Linked DNA regions of Homo sapiens: all the other regions are linked to region 1. The links are contacts of gene promoters, found by promoter capture Hi-C in blood cells and fetal thymus (Javierre and others, 2016). All regions are on one chromosome and are shown on one strand. Each heading gives the region's core, a stretch centred on a gene start or on the middle of the fragment in contact. The rest is flanking DNA. Distances are from core to core; before and after follow the strand shown.

What was found. The method cuts DNA at HindIII sites, captures the fragments that hold promoters and counts their contacts. A CHiCAGO score of 5 or more calls a contact.
Region 2: a fragment that was not itself captured here is called in contact with the fragment with the promoter of ATG4D in region 1 in 1 of 17 cell types (neutrophils); the score reaches 5.8 in neutrophils.
Region 3: a fragment that was not itself captured here is called in contact with the fragment with the promoter of ATG4D in region 1 in 1 of 17 cell types (neutrophils); the score reaches 9.7 in neutrophils.

The regions. Positions count from the first base shown.
Region 1 is chr19:10,541,664-10,545,917 of GRCh38, reverse strand. ATG4D (autophagy related 4D cysteine peptidase) reads right to left here and starts at 2,014. Exons shown (of 10, transcript NM_032885.6): 1 at 1,593-2,014; 2 at 1,052-1,135; 3 at 788-961. The coding sequence starts at 1,827. RefSeq lists an enhancer at 1,028-1,623 and silencers at 1,669-1,848, 1,899-2,238, 2,249-2,298. The HindIII fragment of the contact is 8,842 bases long and covers 1-4,254 here.
Region 2 is chr19:10,875,862-10,880,115 of GRCh38, reverse strand. All of the region lies in intron 1 of CARM1 (coactivator associated arginine methyltransferase 1), which reads right to left. Among named protein-coding and RNA genes, the nearest start is that of CARM1, 6.4 kb to the right of the region's middle. RefSeq lists enhancers at 286-1,128, 2,936-3,165, 3,346-3,495. The HindIII fragment of the contact is 1,353 bases long and covers 1,810-3,162 here.
Region 3 is chr19:10,851,816-10,856,069 of GRCh38, reverse strand. The region is part of intron 2 of C19orf38 (chromosome 19 open reading frame 38); the gene reads right to left. Among named protein-coding and RNA genes, the nearest start is that of C19orf38, 5.5 kb to the right of the region's middle. The HindIII fragment of the contact is 2,363 bases long and covers 1,058-3,420 here.

The sequences.
Region 1 (4,254 bases), core at 765-3,264:
GGATTACAAGCATGCAGCACAGTGCCCAGCCAAAACTCTTTTTTTTTTTTTGAGACTGAGTCTCGCTCTGCCACCCAGGCTGGAGTGCAGTGGCACGGATCTCGGCTCACTGCAACCTCCGCCTCCCCGGTTCAAGCAATTCTCTGCTTTACCTTGCCAAATTACAGGTGCCTGCCACCACACCCAGCTAATTTTTGTATTTTTAGTAGAGATGGGGTTTCACCATCTTGGCCAGGCTGGTCTTGAACTCCTGACCTCATGATCCACCAGCCTCAGCCTCCCAAAGTGCTGGGATTACAGGCATGAGCCACCGTGCCTGGTGAAACTTTTTTTTATTTTTATTTTTGACACAGAGTCTCCCTCTGTTGCCCAGGCTGGAGTGCAGTGGTGCGATCTTGGCTTGCTGTAACCTCCGCCTCCTGGGTTCAAGAGATTCTCCCACCTCAGCCTCGGGAGTAGCTGGGATTACAGGCGTGTGCCACCACAACCGGCTAATTTTTGTATTTTTAGTAGAGATGGGGTTTCATCATATTGGCCAGGCTGGTCTTGAACTCCTGACCGCAAGGGATCCATCCGCCTCAGCCTCCCAAAGTGCTAGGATTACAGGCATGAGCCACCGTTTCCAACCCCGGCTGAAACTCTTATAAACAACTCTCATCTCTCCAAAACTTACTTGACACACAATTCTAACGTGACTTTGAACTCTTAGTTGGTAAGTAATTCTAATACTGCTGATATGGCAGTTGACCCTGTACTCCTAGTGCACCCCTTCCCCCCTATGGCTCACCTCTGGGCAGGAAATGCAGCAGAAGGCCCTGTGCCAGCATCATCTGGCCGCTGCGTAACATGCACCCCCAGCCACAGTCCGAGGTCAGGCAGCCCCCAGGAAGGGGCGGGAAGTCCCGGCGGTATGTGAGCCACAGGCGGGACACAAAGTCCCGCTGGAAACGCTGTATGTCACCTACAAGAGCGGGTCTGTCAGCTGCCACCAGGGACACTCCGGCGGGCGTGGAGAGGCCTCCCCCAGCCCTGGTCCCAACCACCAGCTCACCCTCGCCCTCGAAACGGTAGCGGCGGCCACAGAGGTGGATGCTGGAGATCTTGCTAAAGCTGGTCCGGCTTTTAACCACCCAACCTGGGGAGACGTAGGGGCAGCGCCCAGCGAGATGAAGCACTTGCATGACAGCAACAGCGCTTCCATTCCCCCATCTGTGAAATGGGCACGATCCTAGTTCCTATCTCCGGGGTGGCTCCGGGGATTCCGTCGGAGGTGGGGCCCCCAGTGACAGCTACAGGAGTGTCCACCATCAATTCAGGATGAAGGAAGGTAGTTCTGATTATTGTACCCATTTTACAGAGAGGGGCAAAAACGGAGGCGCCAGGAAGCAAAGGATCTTGCCCAAGGTCACACAGGGGAATGGGCGGGGCTTGAAAACACTATTGGACCTGCCACAGGTCCACCCTGGGCCGGGCAGGGAGGGGACCCACAGGTGACTCAGGACGGGAACAAGGGTGGGATAACTGGCAGGACCGGGGTCTGGTTTTCCTCAACGGCCCCCGACACCCCCACGATCTCCGGGCCCCCTCCTCACCGTACTTGACGTTGTTCCAGGCTGTCAGGAACTTGGCCTTGAACTTGTCCACTTCGTCCGGCTCACTCGGGCCAGCCCCGGGAGAGCCAAGAGCGGGGCCGCTGGCTCCGGAAGGCCCCAGGCCGTTGGGGTCTGGGCCTCTGGGACCCCGCGGCCTGCGGGCCTCGGGCCGGCGGCGCGCGTCCTCCGGGCTGCTGCTCCGGTACTGCGCGGCGGCCGGCGACACTGAGTTCATGGACGCGCCGGGAGGGCGGACCGAGGGCCCAGGTGGGGGGCTGCGGCCGCTGCCCCCCAAGGGCGACCCGCAGCCGGTTCACGGGGCCCGGGGAAGGCGCTACTCGGCCCCCGTCCCCAGGGTACCGGGCCAGGCAACAGCCGCCGCCGCTGCTACCGCAGCCATCGCCATCTTAGCGGGCCAGGACCCCGGATGACGGTGGGCGTGGCCAAGCCAGACGCCCCGCCCCGCCCTCTCCCCGCCCAGCCGCCTTTCCTGCCCCGATCCCGGGTCGCCAGGCGGGGACCTCAAACCCCGACGCCTTCCCGCGGCCTCCCCCCGCCCTCCTTATCACACCGCCAGGAGCGCGACAGCCCCTTCAGGCCCTTATCGGAGGCAGCAGAGCTGGGGAACCCCTGCCCCTGGCCCCGCCCCTAGTCCTGCCCCCCAGGGCCCAGGACTGACCTCCTGGCAGGCGCCCAGGTGAGACTGACTGCGCACCTGCAGCGCCCGCCCCGCCTCCCGAGTGCACCTGCGCGGGCTGCCGACCCAGAACCCGCCCTGGCCTGGGACCAAATCGACTAGTGTGACCTCCGGGGCAAGCCACGCCTCTCTGTGCCTCAGTTTCCTCATGTGCAAAATAGGGCTGGAATACACGCAACAACATAGACGAATCTTCATGAGAATTATGCTCAGGGAAAAAAAATCCAGGGGTAGGCAGGCGCGGGAGGGAGGGATGAATGAAGTGCTCCAGGAAAGTTTTTTTCAGTGTTTGTTTTGTCGAGACAGCATCTGGCTCTGTTGTCCAGACTGGAGTGCAGTGGCGCTTTCATAGCTCACTGCAGCCTCCAACTCTGATCCTCCAACCTCAGCCTCCAGAGTAGCTGAGACCGCAGACAGGAGCCACCATGCCTGGTTAATTTTTTAAATTTTATTTGTAGATAAGGGGTCTCGCTATGTTGTCTAGGCTGGTCTCAAACTCCTGGCTTCATGAGATCCTCCCGCCTCAGCCTCCCAAATGCTGGGATTACAGGCGTGAGCCACCACCTCAGGCAGGAAGACATTTTTTGGAGCTGTGGATAAATTCAGTATCTTAACTGTAATAGTGGCTTCACAGGTGTGAAAACTCATCAGATTGTACGCTTAAAATTTGCATGGTTTTGTATATGTCTATTATACCTCAATAAGGCTGAAAAAAAACCTCTTTGTTTTAAAAAGTAATCAGTTAACTTTTTATAGAGACAAGTTCTCTCTATGTTGCCCAGGCTGGCCTGAAACTCCTTAGCTCAAGTGATCCTCCTGCCTCAGCCTCCCAAGTAGCTGAGACTACAGGAAAATATTTTATTTTATTTTATTTTTTAATTTTTTTTCTCTAACCTTGCGAGGCCCAAACAGATTTTGGTTGTTGTTGTTGAGACAGGGTCTTGCTCTGTCATCCAGACTACAGTGCAGTGGCCTGATCATGGCTCACTGCAGTCTCAACTGCCGAGGCTTAAGCAAGTCTCCTGCCTCAGCCACCTGAGTAGCTAGGACTATAGGCACATGCCACCACCCCTGGCTAATTTTTTTTTTTTTTTTTGAGACGGAGTCTCGTTCTGTTGCCCAGGTTGGAGTGCAATGGCGCGATCTCGACTCACTGCAAGCTCTGTCTCCCAGGTTCACACCATTCTCTTGCCTCAGCCTCCCGAGTAGCTGGGACTACAGGCGCCCGCCACCACGCCTGGCTGATTTTTTGTATTTTTAGTAGAGACGAGGTTTCATCGTGTTAGCCAGGATGGTCTCGATCTCCTGACCTCGTGATCCGCCCACCTCGGCCTCCCAAAGTGCTGGGATTACAGGCGTGGGCCACCGTGCCTGGCCACCCCTGGCTAATTTTTAAAAATTTTTCTGTAGAGATAGAGTCTCCCAGTGTTGCTCAGGCTAGTCTTGAACTCCTGGGCTGAAACGATTAGCCTCAGCCTCCCAAAGTTCTAGGATGACAGACATGAGCCACTGCACCTGGCCAGGGACAATTTTTATTTTTTATTTTATTTTCATTTATTTATGTATTTATTTTGAGATGGAGTTTCGCTCTTGTTGCCCAGGCTGGAGTGCACTAGTGCGATCTTGGCTCACTGCAACCACCACCTCTCAGGTTCAAGCAATTCTGCTGCCTCAGCCTCCTGAGTAGCTGGGATTACGGGCGCACACCACCACGCCCAGCTAATTTTTGTATTTTTAGTAGAGATAGGATTCCACCACGTTGGCCAGGCTGGTCTCGAACTCCTGACTGAGGTGATCCGCCAGCCTCGGCCTCCCAAAGTGCTGGGATTACAGGCATGAGCGATTGCACCCAGCCAGGAAAAAGTTTTAAATGTGTCTAACTCATAAAGATGTATGGGAATGAGCTGAACTTACCAATGTAAAGTGCTTAGAGTGGTATTTGAGGAACAGTTGGGGCTCAGTGAG
Region 2 (4,254 bases), core at 1,237-3,736, 330 kb before region 1:
TCTCCACCTGCTAAATCCAACCTGGTCTGAGGTGTGTGAGGCTTGGCATCTCAAAGTCATTAGCAAGTTCACACCACACTCCAGCTTCTGTTGAAAGGCCTTGCCCACCCATCTCATCCAGACCCCCTACACAGAGGGCCAGTGCTTGGTGACCAGGAGCTGCTCACAGCACTGGACACCTTCCATTAAGATTTCACCTGAGGCTGGGTGCGGTGACTCATGCCGGTAATCCTAGGACTTTGGGAGGCCAAGGCAGATGGATCACTTGAGGTCAGGAGTTCAAGACCAGCCTGGCCAAAAGGGTGAGACCCCCGTATCTACTAAAAATACAAAAATTATCTGGGTGTGGTTGCACGCACTTATAATCCTAGCTACTTGGGAGTCTGATGCAGGAGAATGACTTGAACCTGGGAGGCTAGAGGTTGCAGTGAGATGACATTGAGCCACTGTGCTCCAGCCTGGGTGACAGGGCGAGAATTCATCTCCAAAAAAACCAAAAAAATCCTCGATTCCAACCCAGCCCTGTTTCCACTTTTAGCCCCTCCACTCCTCACAGGGGACCCTGTGCTCCAAGCCAGGTGGCTGTCTCCAGCCCTGGCCCACTGGAGCACCTCTCCATAACCCAGAAACGTCCTTCCCAACATTCTGGCCAGGTCCAGATCCTACCCACTGTGGCCAAGGTGACTCCCTGTATGTTCTCTCTTTGTCCATGGAAACTGGAACCCTAAATTCAGCTGAGCACATGGCCGCTCAGATTGAAAACTACATTTCCCAGCATCCCTTGCAGCTGGCAGTGATCATGTGACTACATTCTAGCCAACAAAATGAAAGCTGAAGCACCTTGCATCAGCTACCGGGAACCTTTCTTAACAAACACCTGGATGTGACCTTTGCACCCTTTCTCCTTTGTCCCTTCCTCTGTCCTGCTGTCTGGAAGCCAGGGTGTAATGGCGGGACTCCAGCAGTCATGCTGAAACCTGAGGACAAGACCTCACCTTAAGAATGGTGGAGGATCAGCCTGGGGCAGTGGCCTGTAATCCCAGCACTTTGGGAGGCCGAGGCGGGTGGATCACCTGAGGTCAGGAGTTTGAGAACAGCCTGGCCAACGTGGCGATACCCCGTCTCTACTAAAAATACAAAAATTAGCCAGCCGTGGTGGCACACGCCTGTAGTCCCAGATACTTGGGAGGCTGAGGCAGGAGAATCGCTTGAACCCGGGAGGCAGAGGATGCAGTGAGCTGAGATCACACCACTGCACTGCAGCCCCTGGGCAACAGAGCGAGACACCATCTCAAAAAAAAAAAAAAAGCCGGGGGGAGGACCTGGATCTGGGAACTTCCAAGAGCCCAGGAGACTTTGGCACCTGACAATCTTCACACTTTAGCATTAGAGCACAAAAAATAAAATGCCATCGTGTTTAATTAAGCCTCTGCTACTTTGGGTCTTTGTGATGAACAGATAAATGTCACTGAACCACTTATATATGCATTTAAGGTGGGCATCCAGTCACCCAGAATGCCAAAGCCATCTCTGCTGCCTGCCAACCACATCACTTTGGCCAGTCAAGTTCTTTCATTTCTGTTTTTCCACCAGTAAATTGGGGTTGGTATCTCTGACCTCACAGAACTCTTTTCAGAGTAAGTGGTAACATACAGTAAGCGCCACAATTGGCACAAGGGGCTCACACAATTCAGAAGTATGCTCTATTCGGCCTGAGGATTTTTTGGTTTCTCTTTTGGCTGGGGCCAAACTCCCCACAGACCCCAACTCCTGCCTGCCTCATTCATTTATCCCAGGGGTCTACAAGCTTCCCCTGCCTCGGGCCAGTGAGTAAATATTTCAGGTTTTGCAGGACACTGTGGTCTCAACTGATTATTGTTGTTTGTGGATTGGGTTTTAGTTTTTTTCCCTAATCAATCTCTCAAAAACTGTAAAAGCCTTTCTTAGCTTTGTCTGTACAAAAATAGGCCACACCGGGCCCAGCGGTTCGTGACTATAATCCCAGCTACTTCTGAGGCTCAGGCAGGAGGAGGATGGTTTGAGGCCAGGGGTTTGGGGCCAGCCTGGGAAACACAGCAAGACTCTGTCTCTAAAAAAATTGCTTAAATTAGCCAAGGGTGGTGACATGTGCTTGTAGTCCCAGCTACTTGGGAGGATGAGGCCAGAGGATCACTTGAGCCCAGGAGTTAGAGGCTGCAGTGAGCTACTAAAATACAAAAAATTAGCTGGGCATGGCGGCATGTGCCTGTAATCCCAGCTACTCGGGAGGCTGAGACAGGAGAATCGCTTGAACCTGGGAGGCAGAGGTTGCAGTGAGCCGAGATTGCGCCACTGCATTCCAGCCTGGGCAACAGAGCGAGATTCCATCTCAAAATAAATAAATAATAAAACACAGGCTGGGTGCGGTGGCTCGCACCTGTAATCCCAGCATTTTGGGAGGCTGAGGCAGGCAGATTATTTGAGGTCAGGAGTTCGAGGCCAGCCTGGCCAAGATGGTGAAACCCTGTCTCTACTAAAAATACAAAAATTAGCCAGGGTGGTGGCACAGGCCTGTAATCCCAGCTACTCAGGAGGGTGAGGCATGAGAATCACTTGAACCTGGGAGGTGGAGGTTACAGTGAGCCAAGACCATGCCATTGCACTCCAGCCTGGGCAACACAGTGAGACTCTGTCTCACTAATAAAATACAAACACAGATAAAAATAGGCCACAGGCTCAATGTGGCCCATAGGCCTAATTTATATCACTGCCCTTTCCCTAGCTGCCCCCAAGGTCAAGCATTTTGAGTCAACACAAGTTTATGCACAGTCTGGTACGGGATAAATGCTCAATAAATGACGGTATCCATTAGCCACACGCAGGCACCGCTGAAACACAAATGCCTTTCTGGGGTTACTAACTTTCCCTGTTGTCACTCCAGCTTGACACCGAGATGTCCTAAAGATGGGGCACATAACAAGCTCTTCTATACCCCTGCCCCAGCTGTCAGGGGGATCCCAGGAGTGTAACCAAAGGAAGTCACAAGGGCCCCTGGTTCGGTGACAGCAGGCCATTCTTCACCTTCTTTGGACAAAGGGTTTTTCTCTGAACTTTCCACCCCATGGCATGCCCCTCACAAACTGAAGTTTAGCCCCTGACGGAGCCCATGCTGCTGTGTAAGCTTCTGAGCCAAGGGGATGGGAGAGTCTAAAGCACTGGCCACACTGACTCGTGCTGACCAAGAAAGAAAAGTGACACAGTCATTTCCAGAAAGAGCGCCACAGGGCTGGGGAAGTGAGAGTTTGTTCTGTTCTCTTTCCCGGCACCCCTCCCTGAGAAACTGCCTCCTTTCCAAGGGAGGGCAGCCTATGCCCAGGAACTCCAGAGGCCATGCCAAAGCTTCCTCAAGCCCAGGAAGCCCACGCCAAAGGGCCTCCCCCTCTGCACAGGGAAAATGGCCTGGTGTTGGTAGTTGCCATTTGGCCAATCTCATGGACGTAGGCCAGGGTGACTTCAGATGGCAAGAAGTAACTGTTCACTACAGAGTGACAGAGACAGGCCCTTCTGCAGCTGTCATCCTTCCCCTGGAGGGTGCAGACGTCAAGGAACAGGGCTGGAAGTCCTCCCCACGTGCCTCTCCTGGGCCTCCTATGTTAGGTACAGATCATGGCCCAGGACTCCCTCCCATGGCCGGTGAGCCAAGACAGCGGGGCAGCCCTGGAGCATAGGGGGCTCCTCCTAGAAAAGCTAGCTCATTCCCATGCCACACCAACGAACACTGCTGTCAGTAACATGGACATAAATATTTATTGGCCGGGCGCAGTGGCTCACGTCTGTAATCCTAGCACTTTGGGAGGCCAAGGCAGGAGGACTGCTTGAGCCCAGGAGTTCAAGACCAGCCTGGGCAAAATAGTGAGACCGCATCGCTAGAAGAAACTTAAAAATTAGCCATATGTGAGGCTGGTGGCGGTGGCTCACACCTGTAATCCCAGCACTTTAGGAGGCCAAGGTGGGCGGATCACCTGAGGTCAGGAGTTCGAGACCAGCCTGACCAACACGGAGAAACCCCATCTCTACTAAAAATACAAAAAAAATTAACCGGGCATGGTGGCACATGCCTCTAATCCCTGTAATCCCAGGACTTTGGGAGGCCAAAGCAGGCGAATCGCTCGAACCCGGGAGGCAGAGGTTGCAGTGAGCCGAGATCACGCCATTGCACTCCAGCCTGGGCAAAATTCCATCTCAAAAAAAAAAAAAAGACAGACATCCAAGTTG
Region 3 (4,254 bases), core at 990-3,489, 310 kb before region 1:
ATGTAACCCAAGTGGAGCCAATGAGAGCTAACTCTGGGACTTTGGTGGTACCACTGGGAAAAGAGGTTTACTCCTCTGGCTAGCATTGCATAGGATAGATATCTTAGGCCAGGTGCGGTGATTCATGCCTGTAATCCCAACACTTTGGGAGGCTGAGGCAGGTGGATTACTTGAGGCCAGGGGCTCAAGACCAGCCTAGCCAACACAGGGAAATTCTGTCTATATTAAAAATATAAATAATTGGCCAGGCGCAGTGGCTCACGCCTGTAATCCCCACACTTTGGGAGGCCAAGGCAGGTGGATCACTAGGTCAGTAGATCGAGACCATCCTGGCTAACACTGTGAAACCCCGTCTCTACTAAAAATACAAAAAATTAGCCAGGCGTGCTGGCACGTGCCTGTAGTCCCACTTACTCAGGAGGCTGAGGCAGGAGAATCACTTGAACCCGGGAGGCGGAGGTTGCAGTGAGCTGAGATGGCGCCACTGAACTCCAGCCTGGGTGACAGAGCAAGACTCTGTCTCAAAAAGAAACAAACAAAACAAAAAACAACAAAACCCCACAAATAATTAGCCAGGTGTGGTGCACACCTGTAATTCCAGCTACTTCAGAGGCTGAGGCACAAGAATAGTTTGAACCCGGGAAGTGGAGGGTGCACTGAGCTGAGATCGTGCTACTGCACTCCAGCCTGGGTGACACAGAGAGACCCCATCTGAAGAAACAAACAAAAAAAGAGATGGCTGGGCACGGTGGCTCACGCCTGTAATCCCAGCCCTTTGGGAGACTGAGGTGGGTGGATCACCTGAGGTCAGGAGTTCGAGATCAACCTGGCCAACATAGTGAAACCTCGTCTCTACTAAAAATACAAAAATTAGCCAGGTGTTACGTGCCTGTAATCCCAGCTACTTGGGACGCTGAGGCAGGAGAATCGATTGAACCCAAAAGGTGGAGGTTGCAGTGAGCCGAGATTGGGCCATTGCCTTCCAGTCTGGGTGACACAGCTAGAATCTGTCTCAAAAAAAAAAAAAAAAAAAAAAAAAGAATATATATCTGAAGCTTCAGGGCACAATCTTGCCTCCATGAGGGGGAGAAACTACCTGAGAATAAGACAGAAGAGGAGCTGAGAAGGCAAATGCTTTCTGTCATTTTTCAGCACCTGGATCCAGCCATATCTGAAGTCAGCCATGTAAACTGACTTCAGCTCAGTGAACCAACAAATCCCCTCTTGCTGGTAGAGCCAGTGTGAGTCAGGTTTTTATTACTTGCAGTCTGGGTGCCAGTGGCCAGATGACATCCACCCCCAGCCCAACGGTAGACCCTGAGATCCACCCAGAAGCTAGTCACACAGGCATGGGAGTGGCAGTTCCAGAGTCACCTTCTCAGCACAAGACTTCGCTTCCCCTTCCTGGAGAAAGAGGAGATGCCCTGACCCCAAGGGAGGTGAGGAGCTAAGCCAGAAGAGGGAAGAAGACAGACGCTTGGTATTCTCACAATGTCAGCCTTGTTCATTGATTCACCTGGGGCAGAAGGGGTGTTGTCAGCTCCCTACTCCAAGGCCACAAGGCCAAGGTGAGAGAAGGGGGCCTTTGATAGAGGAGCCTGAGGCCGGGAAGGACAGAGAACTGCCCTGTCATAGCTGCATGTTGGCCTCGGCTGGCAACAAGATTATTTTTTGCAGTGAAAAAGTTCTTTTTAAAAGTTTTTTTGGGCCAGGCGCGGTGGCTCATGGCTGTAATCCCAGCACTTTGGGAGGCCGATGTGGGCGGATCACTTGAGGTCAGGAGTTGAAGACCACCCTGGCCAACATGGTGAAACCCCATCTCTACTAAAAAATACAAAAATTAGCAGGGTGTGGTGGTTGGCGCCTGTAGTCCCAGCTACTCGGGAGGCTGAGGCACGAGAATCGCTTGAGCCTGGGAGGCAAAGGTTGCAGTGAGCCGAGATTGGGCCACTGCACTTCAGCCTGGGCGACAGAGTGAGACTCTGTCTCAAAAATTAAAAAAAAAAAAAAGTTTTTACAGACAGGGTCTCCCTCTGTCACCCAGGCTGGAATGCAGTGGTGCGATCATGGCTCACTATATCCTCTACCTCCCCGGCTTAAGTGATCCACCTGCCTCAGCCTACTGACACATGCCAGCAGTCCCTCCTAATTAAAAAAAAAAAAAAAAAAACATTAGCCGGACGGGGTAGCTCACGCCTGTAATCTCAGCACTTTGGGAGGCTGAGGTGGGCGGATCACAAGATCAGGAGATTGAGATCATCCTGGCTAACACTGTGAAACCCCTTCTTACTAAAAAAAAAAATACAAAAAATTAGCTGGGCATGGTGGCACATGCCTGTAGTCCCAGCTACTCGGGAGGCTCTGAGGCAGGAGAATCGCTTGAACCCGGGAGGCAGAGGTTGCAGTGAGCCGAGATCGTGCCACTGTACTCCAGCCTGGGCGACAGACCGAGACTGTCTCAAAAAAAAAAAAAAAATTGGGGGGAGCTGGGCATGGTGGCTCACGCCTGTAATTCCAGCACTTTGTGAGGCCGAGGCAGGCAGAACACCTGAGGTCAGGAGTTTGAGAGCAGCCTGGCCAGCATTGTGAAACCCCATCTCTACTAAAACTCAAAAAGTAGCTGGGCATGGTGGTGCACGCCTGTAATCCCAGCTACTCGGGAGGCTGAGGCAGGAGAATTGCTTGAACCTCGGAGGTAGAGGTTGCAGTGAGACTCGAGAGGCTGAGGCAGGAGAATTGCTTGAACCTCGGAGGTAGAGATTGCAGTGAGCTGGGGTCACACCACTGCACTCCAGCCTGGGCGACAGAGTGAGTCCCTGTCTTTACAAAAAATAGACATATTAGCCAGGCGTGGTGGTGCACGGCTGTAGTCCCAGCTGCTAGGGAGACTGAGAAGGGAAGATTGATTGAGCCCAGGAAGTGGAGGCTGCAGTGAGCTGTGATTGCGCCACTGCACTCTAGCCTGGTCAACAAAGCAAGACCCCTATCTAAAAAAAAAATAAAATAATTTTTTTTTTTTTTTGTAGAGACAGGGTCTCACTATGTTGCCCAGGCTGATCTTGAACTCCTTGGCTCAAGGAATCGTCCTGCCTCAGCCTCCCAAAGTCCTGGGCTTATAGGCGTGGGTCATTGCACCCGGCCAGGAAAGTTCTGACTGATGGTAACACAGAAGGCCACCAAAGGCTCCTCCCTCCTGCTTCTTGACCCATAACCCATGTCCAGCCTCCTCATTCAGAGATCAGAAAAGGACATCAGCCCTGCCAGGGTTCCCTCACTCAGGTGAAAAGATCGAATCCTTGCTGTGGTCTACAAGACCCCCCACGATCCTCCTGGTGAACTCCCTGCCCCGCCTCTCCCCATTTTCCTCCTTGTTCACCATCCTTCAGCCATACTGGGCTCCTCAGACACACCAGGGAAGCTTCAGCCTCGGGGCCTTTGCACATCCTGTATCCTCTGCCTGCAACACATGCCCTGGATATCCACATGATTGGCTCCTCCTCATCATTCAGTTTTTTGCTCAAATGCCACCTCCTCAGAGAGGGCTTCCCTGATTGCCCTACTCTACTTCAGAGTCCAGAGGGCTGACCATTAGAACATGGGGCCAGTCGCCCTACTCTACTTCAAATAATGACATCCTCACCCAGGTGGATTTCATCTGGTGCCCTGCTGGCAGGTTGAATATATATTGGATTTCATGTTTATCATCTGTCCTCATCCGCCTGGAATGTCAGCCTGGAATGTCTTTGGGCAAGCCCAAAGACAGTTCTTGGTCCATAGTAAGTGCTCAGAAACCTTATGTGGCTCATGCTGGGCATGGTGACTCACATCTGTAATCCCAGCTACTCTGGAGGCCGAGGTGGGAGGATCACTTGAGGTTAAGAGTTCAAGACTAGCCTGGTCAATATCTTTTTTTTTTTTGAGACAGAATCTTGCTCTGTCACCCATGCTGGAGTGCAATGGCACTGTCTTGGCTCACTGTAACCTCCGCCTCCCAGATTCAAATGATCCTCCTGCCTCAGCCTCCTGAGTAGCTGGGATTACACACGCATGCCACCACACCCAGCTATTTTTTGTATTTTTTTTTTTTTTTTTTTTGAGACGGAGTCTCGCTCTGTCGCCCAGGCCGGACTGCGGACTGCAGTGGCGCAATCTCGGCTCACTGCAAGCTCTGCTTCCCGGGTTCACGCCATTCTCCTGCCTCAGCCTCCCGAGTAGCTGGGACTACAGGTGCCCGCCACCGCGCCCGGCTAATTT